Regions from separate parts of the Homo sapiens genome. Here all the other regions are linked to region 3. Evidence: promoter capture Hi-C in 16 types of primary human blood cells and fetal thymus (Javierre and others, 2016). All regions are on one chromosome and are shown on one strand. The core of a region is centred on a gene start or on the middle of the fragment in contact, and the rest is flanking DNA. Distances in the headings are between cores, read along the strand shown.

What was found. Contacts are between HindIII fragments. The CHiCAGO score rates a contact against its expected background, and 5 or more counts as called.
Region 1: a contact is called between a fragment that was not itself captured here and the fragment with the promoter of NRBP2 in region 3, in 3 of 17 cell types (monocytes, M0 macrophages and erythroblasts). The highest score is 7.8, in monocytes.
Region 2: the fragment with the promoter of MROH6 here is called in contact with the fragment with the promoter of NRBP2 in region 3 in 1 of 17 cell types (naive B cells); the score reaches 7.2 in naive B cells.

What each region holds. Positions count from the first base shown.
Region 1 is chr8:144,291,852-144,295,342 of GRCh38, reverse strand. It overlaps HSF1 (heat shock transcription factor 1), which reads right to left. Exons shown (of 13, transcript NM_005526.4): 1 at 3,469-3,491. Among named protein-coding and RNA genes, the nearest start is that of HSF1, 2.0 kb to the right of the region's middle. RefSeq lists enhancers at 2,942-3,001, 2,604-3,260 and a silencer at 3,392-3,491. The HindIII fragment of the contact is 1,460 bases long and covers 1,511-2,970 here.
Region 2 is chr8:143,570,619-143,574,294 of GRCh38, reverse strand. It overlaps MROH6 (maestro heat like repeat family member 6), which reads left to right and starts at 1,523. Exons shown (of 14, transcript NM_001100878.2): 1 at 1,523-1,874; 2 at 2,110-2,262; 3 at 2,474-2,628; 4 at 3,301-3,418; 5 at 3,638-3,676. The coding sequence starts at 1,581. It also overlaps a transcript of NAPRT not described here. RefSeq lists an enhancer at 2,165-3,014. The HindIII fragment of the contact is 15,945 bases long and covers 1-3,676 here.
Region 3 is chr8:143,838,407-143,842,471 of GRCh38, reverse strand. NRBP2 (nuclear receptor binding protein 2) reads left to right here and starts at 1,499. Exons shown (of 18, transcript NM_178564.4): 1 at 1,499-1,766; 2 at 2,243-2,365; 3 at 2,442-2,543; 4 at 2,647-2,736; 5 at 2,923-2,963; 6 at 3,064-3,158; 7 at 3,277-3,300; 8 at 3,372-3,455; 9 at 3,534-3,589; 10 at 3,697-3,792. The coding sequence starts at 1,638. RefSeq lists enhancers at 152-881, 882-1,612 and a silencer at 1,038-1,597. The HindIII fragment of the contact is 4,061 bases long and covers 105-4,065 here.

The DNA.
Region 1 (3,491 bases), core at 991-3,490, 450 kb before region 3:
TTCCTTATCTTGTTAATAAAGATGGGACAAAATCATAGCTTGTAAAAAACTGGGATGATGGTGAACCCAGTTCTGAGGCTTCACTTTCTGCTTTTGTTTGGTTCTCCATGCTGTCAAATTCTCTGAAGAGGCTGTTGCCCTCCTGAGTCAGCTGCAGCCCAGCAAGGCCCTAGAAGAGCCTCTGCTGGTGGACAGAGGAGCTGCTGCATGCAGACGAGGAAGCTGGGCTGAGGGCCGGCACCAGGGCACGGGGCAGGGAGGCTGCGGGTCCCGGGTCTCATGGGTCTCAGTTCTATGGAGGTGCCTGTCAGTCCAGGTATTCAGTCCCCCAACCCCGTCTTTGGGTCTCAGTGGTACTGGATCCAGGTGTACCTTTGGGAGAAGCTGTTGAGAAGCTGGCTGAGGGAGGACCACCCACGTGCACGCCCATGCTCTTATGTGGATCCCCGGGATCATAACCTTGTGGCTGACACATTTCCTCTCCAAGGCTGTGCTGTCCTCCACGACTTGCTGGGTCCCCTCAAGGCCCTTGCCTGTGTGGGTGGGGTGCTCATGGGAATGAGGGTCTTGGGAGGGGGGGGTGGGAAATCAAACAACACAGGGATGGGGTAGCTGCCACAGTCCCCACCAATGGGGTCTCCTGGGCAGTGACCCGGCATTCTGCCTCCAGTGGCTGCAGTGGGAGTCCTGATCTCAGGCCAGGGAGGGGACGTGCAATGGTGGTCCAGACCTGGTCCCATTCCTGGCCAGGCTCAGTAAAGTTACTGGCCAGTTTCTGGGCCTCGGTCTCCCCCAGGTTATTCAGCCTTGAGAGTTAGTCACCATGCCTGTGATTCTGCCTCATCTTCTTGTGTCAAATAGGGAGGGTTTTTCTTGGCAGAATGGTGGTAAGACTCTGAGCCAGAAGGAGACTCTCCCAGAGAAGGCAGCAGAGAGCAAGAGCACCAGGGCCTTCTCAAGGCCTCCGAGAGCCAGCTGGGCCTGGGCAGTAGATTTGTGGGAGGGTGCCCTGTTGGGACTCTGCTGACAGGGAGTCCTCAGGGCTTGTGTGAGTGCTCTCAAAGTCACAGGATGGGATGATCACCTCCTTTCTCCAGGCCAGGCAGCCAGCGCCGGAAAGCTCTGCAGCCCCCTGCGCGGCCTGGAGAAGGGCTTCCTTCCAGTTTTAAGTCAGTGTTTCTGTCTCATTGCCATGCTCGCCCCCAGTGCTACGTCCTGCACCAACCATTGCCACTTCATACTGACCAGGTGGAACCAAACACTCACATTCCAGTTGGCTCCCCATCCCTCCCCAGGGAGAACAGATCCACAGGTGGTGCACCTGTGAGTGGAGTGGAGGCTGGCCACGGGCCTCATCACACCTGCCTTCCTTGCTCAAAAGCCCTGCCCAGAACATGCCTCGGTCCCAAAAAAGGGTACACTGGGCCCTAACCCACATGCCTCATAATCTTTAAGCAGAAACAGCAAGCAGATTACGGGACAGGACAGATCACGCTAGTAGGATTAAGCTTAGAATATCCCAGATAATCGCGGATGCCCCTCCCCCAATGGGGGAGTTATTCCCCTTAACTTCTGAGGATTAAGGGGAATAAGAAAAAGAAGAAGGGCTGGGTGCAGTGGCTCACACCAGTAATCCCAGCACTTTGGGAGGCCAAGGCGGGTGGATAACTTGAGGTCAGGAGTTCCAGACCAGCCTGTCCAATGTGGTGAAACCCCGTCTCTACTAAAAATACAACAATCAGCCGGGTGTGGCAGCACGCACCTGTAGTCCTGGCTACTCGGGAGGCTGAGGCAGAATTGCTTGAACCCGGGAGGTGGAGGTCGCAGTGAGCCGAGATCGCACCACTGCACTCCAACCTGGGTGACAGAGCAAGACTCGGTCTAAAAAAAAAAAAAAGAAAAAAGAAAAAGACGGATAAAAGAAGACAGAAACATGGGAGTATTTCCTTTGCACAAGAATCCAAGGTCTAGAATGAAGAGATGGTGAAATGAAGCCAGCCTCCAGGAAGGTGCACTGTGCCTTAATGGGACCTGGGGATGGGAAGGCCAACACAGAGGTGTCAGCGGGACAAACACAAAGTGTTTCTAACAAGAGCAAAGATTTCCAGTCTTCTCTTTATTTCCAAACACTCTGTAGGTAAAGCAGAGCCTCAGTAAACCCAAGAAGCAGAAAACCTGGCCTCCTGCCTGGGGCAGCTTCAGTTTAGACTTTTCTTCATTCCTAACAGCATAAAGAGGCTGTGCAAATGGGAGGCACTCAGCAGAGCCTGAAGAACTCTGGGGTCTTAGCTCCTGGGAGGCCACACATGCTTGGTGGCACCCTGCCGGTCACGGTGCCTCCAAAAGCTCCCAATGATCAGTGGCCTTTCTTTTTTTTCTTTTTTTTCTTAGACAGGGTCTCACTCTTTGCCAGGCTGCAGTGGCGGGATCTTGGTTCAGTGCAACCTCTGCCTCCCAGGTCCAGGGAGTCCTCCTATCTCAGCCTCCCAAGTAGCTAAGACCACAGGCAAGCACCACCACGCCCGGCAAATTTTTTGTATTTTTAGTAGAGCTGGGGTTTTGCCATATTGTCCGGGCTGGTCTCGAACTCCTGGCCTCAAGTGATCCACCCGCCTCCGCCTCCCAAAGTGCTGGGATTACAAGCAAGAGTCACCCCACTCGGCCAGTGTGGCCCTTCTTCAGGTCATCACTTGCCAGCCGCAGGCGGTGGCTCTGCCCCTCACCGGACACGACGTCACAGCCGGGATGTGAACAGCAGATTCTGATCTCCAACTCCAGACAATCACTGATTTACTTCTGCAAACCGGAGCTGTCCGGTCTTGCAGGGTCGGACCATGTAAACAAGCCTGCTGCCAGGCAACTGAAGACAGAAACACGAATAAAGATGCCCCATAAGGAATGAAAAACAAAACTCCTCTTGGGAAACCCAGATTTGGGATTCGGAAACGGGCTTGAGATCAACCTGAAGCTTCATGACGTCTTACTGTTTCCACTGCCTTTCCTGTTCCACTACAGCAACGCCCTCCACTTCACGTGCCAAGTCCTGACTTTCTCCTAATAGTTGCCGACCCAGCACCCCGTAGGCTGTCCCCTGGGGACGCCGATGTCCTCTGGGGCATAGCGTCCGCTGGCGAAGCCGGGTGCTTGCCCTAAGCGCGGACACTTCCGCAACCGCCCAACAGTTAGCAGAAGCCCAATACAAGAGACGCCCCATTCTCCCCATCCCAGGGAAACTTCGCTGGGGCAGGGGTTGAACCGAGTGTGGGTCTCGTAGCCGCTTTCCCAACTTAAGGCTCTGGGTCTGAGCAGGCTCGGGACCCGCCGCCCTTCTCTGGCGGGGGCAGGGCAGGCTCACCGCGCGTAAGCTGAAGTGCGGCAGGGCCCCTCCCCGCAGCCCTCCCGCGCCGTCCGCCGCGGCCCTGCTCCCTCCCGGTCCCCACGGGCCCCGCGCCCGCGCGCTGCCCTCACCGGGCTCCAGCAGATGAGCGCGT
Region 2 (3,676 bases), core at 274-2,773, 270 kb after region 3:
GCACCACCCTGGCATCTGGCGTCAGGGACACAGCTCCTGACCCAGCAGCCCACGGAAGGAGAGGAAGAATGGGGAAGAAGTTGAAGCTCCAGGAGATGACTCAGCCCCAGACACCTGGCCAGAGTGGCACTGCACGTGGCTGTGCTGGGCTGGCCCTGCCTCTGCACCAGCAAGTTCCTGATCTCAGGGTTCCGCCAGTTTGGGCAACGTGAGCTTCAAGAGGAACTGCTTGGGGGAGAGGTTCTAGGCTTGGCAGGAAGTGGAGGCTGGGGGCCTGGGCCTCTCTTGTCGAAGCAGCCTGAGGTGGCACAGACAGGCAAGGGTGTGGGGGGAATGCTGACCGCCTGGGGCACTTCCGTCTGCCCAGGCATTCCACCAGACCAGCTCACCTGGCTCCCCGGGCTTCAGGGTGGGCAGCACCACTGTGTGGTTGGCTGAGGGTGGAGGGTGGGGACTTGGAGCAGAGGCCCAGTCCAGCCAGCCCCGGGGAGTACGAGCTAGGAGAGAGATACAGACTCACACACATTGGACAGAACACACCACACCCCAGGCACCCCCAGGGCACCCGCGCACTCCGAGGGGCCCAGCCAGAGTGGCTGTATTCTTCCGTTCTTGCACTGCTGTAAAGAAATACCTGAGACTGGGTAATTTCTAAGGAAGAGAGGTTTAATTGGCCTGTGGTTCTGCAGGTACAGGAAGCATGGCTGGGGAGGCTTCAGGAAACTTACCATCTTGGTGGAAGCGGAAGCGGGCAGGTCTTACATGGCCGGAGGAAGGGGTGGGGCGGTGCCACGCACTTCCAGACAACCAGATCTTGAGAAGTCTTATCATGGGAACAGCACCAAAGGGGGAAGTTGCCCCCAGGATCCAATCACTTCCCACCAGGCCCCACCTCCAGCACTGGGGATTACGTTTCAACATGAGATTTGGCCAAGGACCCAGGACCCAGAGGGGCCTGCACAAGCTCTGGAGGGGCCACCGCTCCTCTGGTGTCTTCACTGCCCCCTCCACACCTCCGGGCTGCCCCAAGCTCACCCAGTCATGCCTGTTGCAAGGTGTCTGACAGAGCCAGCGTGCAGGGGGCGGAGCCAGCGTGCAGGGGGCGGGGCCAGCCCCTAGCCCCAGGCCCAGTGGGGAGCTGACTGCTGCTTGGGGGCTGAATCAGGCCTCGACTCAGGGTGGGGCCCAGACTCCTGGACCCTGCGAGGACCTCCTCAGAGCTGTCCACAACTGCCCTGAGCTCCCTGGTCAACAGGGGCTGGTAGTCAGGGTGGGGGCCCTTCTCCCCCTTTCTTCGTGGATCTGCCAGCTCTTGGGGATCCTGTTCTCAGGGCCCTGGTGGGTAGAGCCACACCACAGGCACTCAGGCTGCAGGTGGCCACTCCCCTCCAGCAGCCCAGGCAGGAGGGCCCCTCAAAGGCCCATTGTAGGCACGTCCGTGTGGCTCCCCAGCCCCCGCAAGCTCACGCTAGCGCACGCCACCACGCCCGTCCGTGGTCCCGCCCGGGGCGGCTTCTAGGTCAGTCCTGGGCACAACTTCGCAGGAGGAGCAGCGGCAGGTGCTGCAGGCAAGGGCCGCCATGGCTGGGGGTGTGTGGGGCCGGAGCCGGGCCCGGGAGGCTCCCGTGGGGGCTCTAACCCTGACAGCACTGACTGAAGGAATCCGGGCCAGGCAGGGGCAGCCCCAGGGACCCCCTTCCGCAGGCCCTCAGCCCAAGTCCTGGGAGGTCAAACCTGAGGCTGAGCCACAGACCCAGGCACTCACCGCCCCCTCTGAGGCAGAGCCTGGACGTGGGGCCACCGTCCCTGAAGCTGGCAGCGAGCCCTGCTCCCTCAACAGTGCCCTGGAACCAGCCCCTGAGGGGCCCCACCAGGTGACGGGGGAGGGAAGGGATGTTGTGCGAACCGGCCTGGGGGTCCTGTGGATGGTAGGTGGAAGGCGGGGTGGCAGGGGGGCGGTGCTGGCCCCGGGGGAGGTCAGCGTGAAACAGGCTGGTGAGCAACAGAGGAGCAAGGGATTTTGTAGGAAGCCAGGTGGGAGGCCGAGGGACCAGGAGGAGAGCTAGGAGAGGTTTGGGCACTTCAGACGCCCCACCCATCCTGCCCTAGGTTCCCCAGAGTTCCTGGGAGGAGGGAGTTCTTGCCGACCTCGCGTTGTACACGGCTGCCTGCCTGGAGGAGGCTGGCTTTGCAGGGACCCAGGCGACAGTGCTCACCCTGTCCTCAGCCCTGGAGGCCCGGGGCGAGCGGTTGGAGGACCAGGTCAGCCTTCACCCACTTCATGCCCTACAGAATCCTGCCGGTTCGGGCACCAAGGTGGTGGGAGGGGCCTGGAGAGCGCAGCCTGACCCTGCCATCTTCAGGCTGCTCCTGCCAGGCGGGATCAGGGTGGGGGTGGAGGTGGGGTGCAGGCCAGAGGGGAATGGACGGTGGAGGAGGCCTGACTGCTGAAGTCTGCCCCCTTCCCCACCAGGTGCATGCTCTGGTGCGTGGGCTGCTGGCGCAGGTGCCCAGCCTAGCGGAGGGGAGGCCCTGGAGGGCGGCCCTGCGAGTGCTGAGCGCACTGGCCCTGGAGCATGCGCGGGACGTGGTGTGTGCGCTGCTACCCCGCTCTCTGCCCGCCGATCGGTAACCCAACCGTCCTGGCCCTGCGGTCCCCACGCGGCTTCCTTCCCTCTTCCCGCTTGGCGGTGGAGTCTGGCCCCAGAAGAGGGAGCTGAAAAGGGGCAGGGCCTCCTTATTCCAGCCCCGCGATGACTCATGCCCCGTATCCATTCCCGCTCCCCTCATTTTTAGCTCCGCAAACTCCCCCCACACTCCTGCCACAGAGTTTCTGATGCTGGGCTCCTCTCTTGGAGCCACCTTCTATCTTCGGGTGGCCTCCCCTGGAGACCGTCCTGGGGTTGGCTCCGGAGTGGGGTGAATGAGGCTGGGGGGCTAACGTGCCTGGACACCCCTGGCTCTTTGGTTAATTGGCCCCAGAAGTTATCTTTGGTTTTATTCTCTGTGGCAATTTTTTTCTTTTTAATAATGCCAGGTTTGTTTCACTGTCGCTGACCCAACGGGACTCCCAGTGGGTCCCCACCCTGCAGCTCAGCTTGAGATAGGCTATGTTGTGGTCTGCACAATTAACCCTTCATTTGTTTCTCTGAGATTTGGGGATGGGGGGAGATGGGAGGGGTTTCCTGCCCCTCCCCTGCTGGAGTCCTACTGGCTGCCTCCACCCTGGCTGGGGACTCCCTACATTCCCTGGACACCCACCCATCTCTTGTCTCACACCAGCCCCCTCCAAACCCTCAGGGTAGCAGCCGAGCTCTGGCGCAGCCTAAGCCGTAACCAGCGTGTAAATGGGCAGGTGCTGGTGCAACTGCTGTGGGCGCTGAAGGGTGCTTCGGGGCCGGAGCCCCAGGCACTGGCGGTAGGTGGCTCCAGCCATTACCAGGGGGTGGGGGCGGGGGTGGGGGGTGGCGAGGAGCGGGGAGGATGGGCATAGGGAGTTTGCACCTAGGTAACTGCTCCTGGAATGTCCCATGCGTGTCTGAGGCTGTCCCCATCCTGTTGACAGCACGCCTGTCCCTCTGCTGCCCAGTGCAGCTCCAGGCGTGCCCCAGGCCTGAGTGGGCCACTTGCTCCACAGGCCACACGTGCTCTTGGGGAGATGCTGGCTGTTTCGGGC
Region 3 (4,065 bases), core at 250-2,749:
GCTTTAAAAAAAATCTCAATAAGAAAGTTTATGAATTTGTGTTGGGCCATATTCAAAGCTGTCCTTGGCCGAATGCACCCTCTGGGCTGCGGGTTGGACAAGCTTAGCATAGAATCTGGTGTGGCCGAGGTAAACACAGACATTCAAATCAGGCAGAACATTCCAAGGGCTTAGAGGGTGTCTCCCAGGAGCTGGTCAGGGCCAGTTTCAGGGTGGAGGATTTGAACACCCCAAACCTTTACTGCAGAGGGCCTCAGCAGGATCACCTGGCATTGGTGGAAACCACACACAAGGTGCCTGGTGACCAAGGCTGGTCAGAAAAGAGAGACCACAGGGGACGCAGCAGGGCCAGATGCACCTCTGCCAAAGAAAGAAAGAGGCGTCCCAAAGGGCCAGTGCATGGAGCTGCGCGGAGGGGAGGAGCGGAGTTCCAATTTGGGCTCCAGAGAGAGAAGGTAAAGGATGAGGACCCGCCGTGAAGGAGGGAGGAGACCACAGGAAGGCCGTGGGGGCTGTGGGCTGAAGGGGGTTTTAGGTGAGAATCGGGGACAGCCCCGGTGGTCGGCGTGGCTGGAGGGTGTGCTTAGAGCGGCCTCCGGAGGGAGAGGTCGTGTGAGCCGGGTGGGCTCCCCCCTCATGGTTCCACTGTCCCATGGGAGCCAGCCGCGGAAAGGAAATGCGCGTTTGAGGAGAAAAGAGAAAATCGCCATCCTGGAAAGTGAGAAGATGGGCTTGTGGGCGGGAGGAGGCACTGGTGGGCGGGCCAGGGAGAGATTCGTGGTCACCGATCAAAGTCAGCCTGGGTCAGCCTGCTGGTGGGCCTTTCCCCCGCCCTCGGTGCCCCTTCGACCTGTCCCTTGGGGGTCGGCCGGGGAATGAGTGCGTGGCCAGGAGAGCGGGTCCCGCTTTCGAGCCCGCGGGGTCTTCTGCAGCTGGAGGGTGCCGTGGGCTTGGGGGCCCCCAGATGCCCCGGGTCTTCCCCCAGATCCTAGGGGAGCAACCGCGAGAGAAGTGGGCGCTCCGGGCTCCAGGTGTCCGCAGGGCGGGGCCTCCGAGGGGGCGGGGATTTGGGGGCGGTTCCTCTGCGCGGGGCGGGGCCTCATAGGGGCGGGGCTTCGAGGAGGTGAGGCGGGGCCTGGGGTGGGGCTTCGCGGAGGACCCTGGGAACGGGCGGGGGCGGGGACTAAAACGGGGCGGGGATTCGCGGGGGTGGGGCGGGTCCTGGGGCGGGGCTTCGCGAAGGAGGCTTGGAGGACGAGGAGGGGACAGGGCCTGGGGAGGGGCTTCGCGGAGCAGGCCTGGGAGACGAGGAGGAAACAGGGACTGGGGCGGGGCTTCGCGGGGCGGGGCCTCCGGGGGGGCGGGGCCTGGGCGCGGCCCGGGCTCGGCAGCTCTCGGGGAAGCTCTGCTCTGGCTCCGGCAGGCACAGGCGGCTCGGGAGGTGCGCGCCGGCTCCGCCCCCGGGCCCCGCCCGTCCGCCGCGCGCCCGCGCCTCCCAATTCCCAGAGCCGGGGCTGGGGCTCTAGGCTGCCGCGGCGGCTCTAGGCTGGGCTGCTGGGCGCGAGGCCAGGGCGGGCCGGGAGAGGCTGCGCCGGCGGCGGATCGCGCAGAGGGCGGTGGCCTGGGCTGGCCGAACCATGGCGGCCCCGGAGCCGGCGCCGAGGCGGGCCCGGGAACGGGAGCGGGAGCGGGAGGACGAGAGCGAGGACGAGAGCGACATCCTGGAGGAAAGCCCGTGTGGTCGCTGGCAAAAGCGACGGGAGCAGGTGGGCGCGGGGGTTGGGGCACGGGGTGACACCGCCCTCCCAGAGCGGGAGGGGCCTGGAGGCTGCGCGGGGCGTGGGGGCGCTGGGAGAGCGCGGCGGCTGGAAACCTCTCCGCGGCCCCTCGCGGCCCGCGAATCAGCCACCCCTGGACCCCTTTGGCCTGGCGCTCGCCCTGGGACTCCCTGAGGGCCAGTCTCCTCCCAGGACCACCTCCCCATGCCTCTGGACTCAGCCGCTAGCTTCCTGGGGATCCCCCTCGACCCCCTGAAACCTGCTCCAAATCCCCTTAGCCCAGCCCTTGGATAGGAGCCCTTGGCTCCTGGGGGCAGCTACCCTCCAAGCCCCACCTTCCCGCAGAGTGGCTCAGGGCCTGCAGCCCACGCTTGGGCCCACTGGAAAGGTGTGGACAGGGACCAAATCCTCACCCACAACCCTGACACACACCAGGGCACACATAACCCTTTATTCACCCCCAGGTAAACCAAGGGAACATGCCAGGGCTTCAGAGCACCTTCCTAGCCATGGACACGGAGGAGGGGGTAGAGGTGGTGTGGAACGAGCTCCACTTCGGAGACAGGAAGGCCTTCGCGGCGCACGAGGTGAGACCGCTGCCCCCTCCTCATCCTGCTTGGGTGACCACCTGCTGACCACCCAGCGACCACCCTCCCTCCCCAGGAGAAGATCCAGACCGTGTTCGAGCAGCTGGTGCTGGTGGACCACCCGAACATCGTGAAGTTGCACAAGTACTGGCTGGATACCTCTGAGGCCTGCGCGAGGGTGAGCACGGGCAAGGCCCCGGGCAGGCAGAGACCACAGCTAGGTGGGGCGGGCATGGGGACGAACCCGCAGCTGGTGGAAATCCTGAGCTCGCACCGTGCAGGTCATCTTCATCACAGAGTACGTGTCATCAGGCAGCCTCAAGCAATTCCTCAAAAAGACCAAGAAGAACCACAAGGCCATGAACGCCCGGGTATGGGGAGCGGGCTGGGGCAGCCACGGGGACAGGACGGGGTTGGGGCAGCCTCGGGGACTGGGATGGTGAGGGGGTGCCCGGCGGCCTCGGACAGGGGCTGGGCGAGGATGCGGGGCGGGCTCCGCAGGCCCAGCCGCCTCTCCTGCGCCCACCCGACCGACGGAGTCGTGCGTCCGCCGCCAGGCCTGGAAGCGCTGGTGCACGCAGATCCTGTCTGCGCTCAGGTGAGGGCCTGGGCTGGCCTGGGCGCGGCGCCACCGAGCCCCCATCTCTCCAGAGCCTCCTGACCGGCTCCTCCTACTCTCCCCTCCCCAACGTCTGCAGCTTCCTGCACGCCTGCAGCCCCCCAATCATCCACGGGAACCTGACCAGCGACACCATCTTCATTCAGCACAACGGCCTCATCAAGATCGGCTCCGGTGCTGGCGGGGCAGGGCTGGGTGGGGGAACGGGGCAGGGGAAGGTGCCTGGAGCCAAGGGCAGAGGAGTTCTGATGCCCCAGCAGCTAACTCCACTCTTTCTCCCGCCCCTTGGCAGTGTGGCACCGAATCTTCTCCAATGGTAAGTGCGGACTTTGGGGGGACGGGGTCCTGGAGAGGTCCCCGCCCGCTCAGCTCTGCGCCCTCCCACAGCACTTCCAGATGATCTCCGAAGCCCCATCCGCGCTGAGCGAGAGGAACTTCGGAACCTGCACTTCTTCCCCCCAGAGTATGGAGGTGAGTGGTGCTGGGTCCGGGTGCCCCGTGCCTACCCTGCGCTTCTCTCCTACGTGTCCTGTGCTCTCTTCTGTTCAGAGGTGGCCGATGGGACCGCTGTGGACATCTTCTCCTTTGGGATGTGTGCGCTGGAGGTACTGCCCCCGCCCTCCACCTTGTGCTCTGCCCTCCTCCTAACTGTGCCCTGCCTGGCTCACCTGTGTGGTCCCTTCCCCATGCCTGACCTGGCTCTGTGCCCCAGATGGCTGTACTGGAAATCCAGACCAATGGGGACACCCGGGTCACAGAGGAGGCCATTGCTCGCGCCAGGCACTCGCTGAGTGACCCCAACATGCGGGTAAGCAGCTTGCCCTGCCCCTCCCCAGCTGGCTCACCGTGCTCAGCTAGGGCTAGCAAGGTGCTCCAGGCAGACCTGGGAGAACATCACAGTTTGTGCAGTTGAGGGGTATACCAGCTGACTGCACCCCTCCCAAAGAGGACCTCAGTGGGAGCACATACTGGTTCCAGGCCTGAAGGCCCTAAGGGGTCAGCACATTCTAAGGACAAGAAGGCAAGAGAGACCCTCCCTCTGTGGCTGCCATCACCATGCCCGTTTTATAAAGAAACCAAG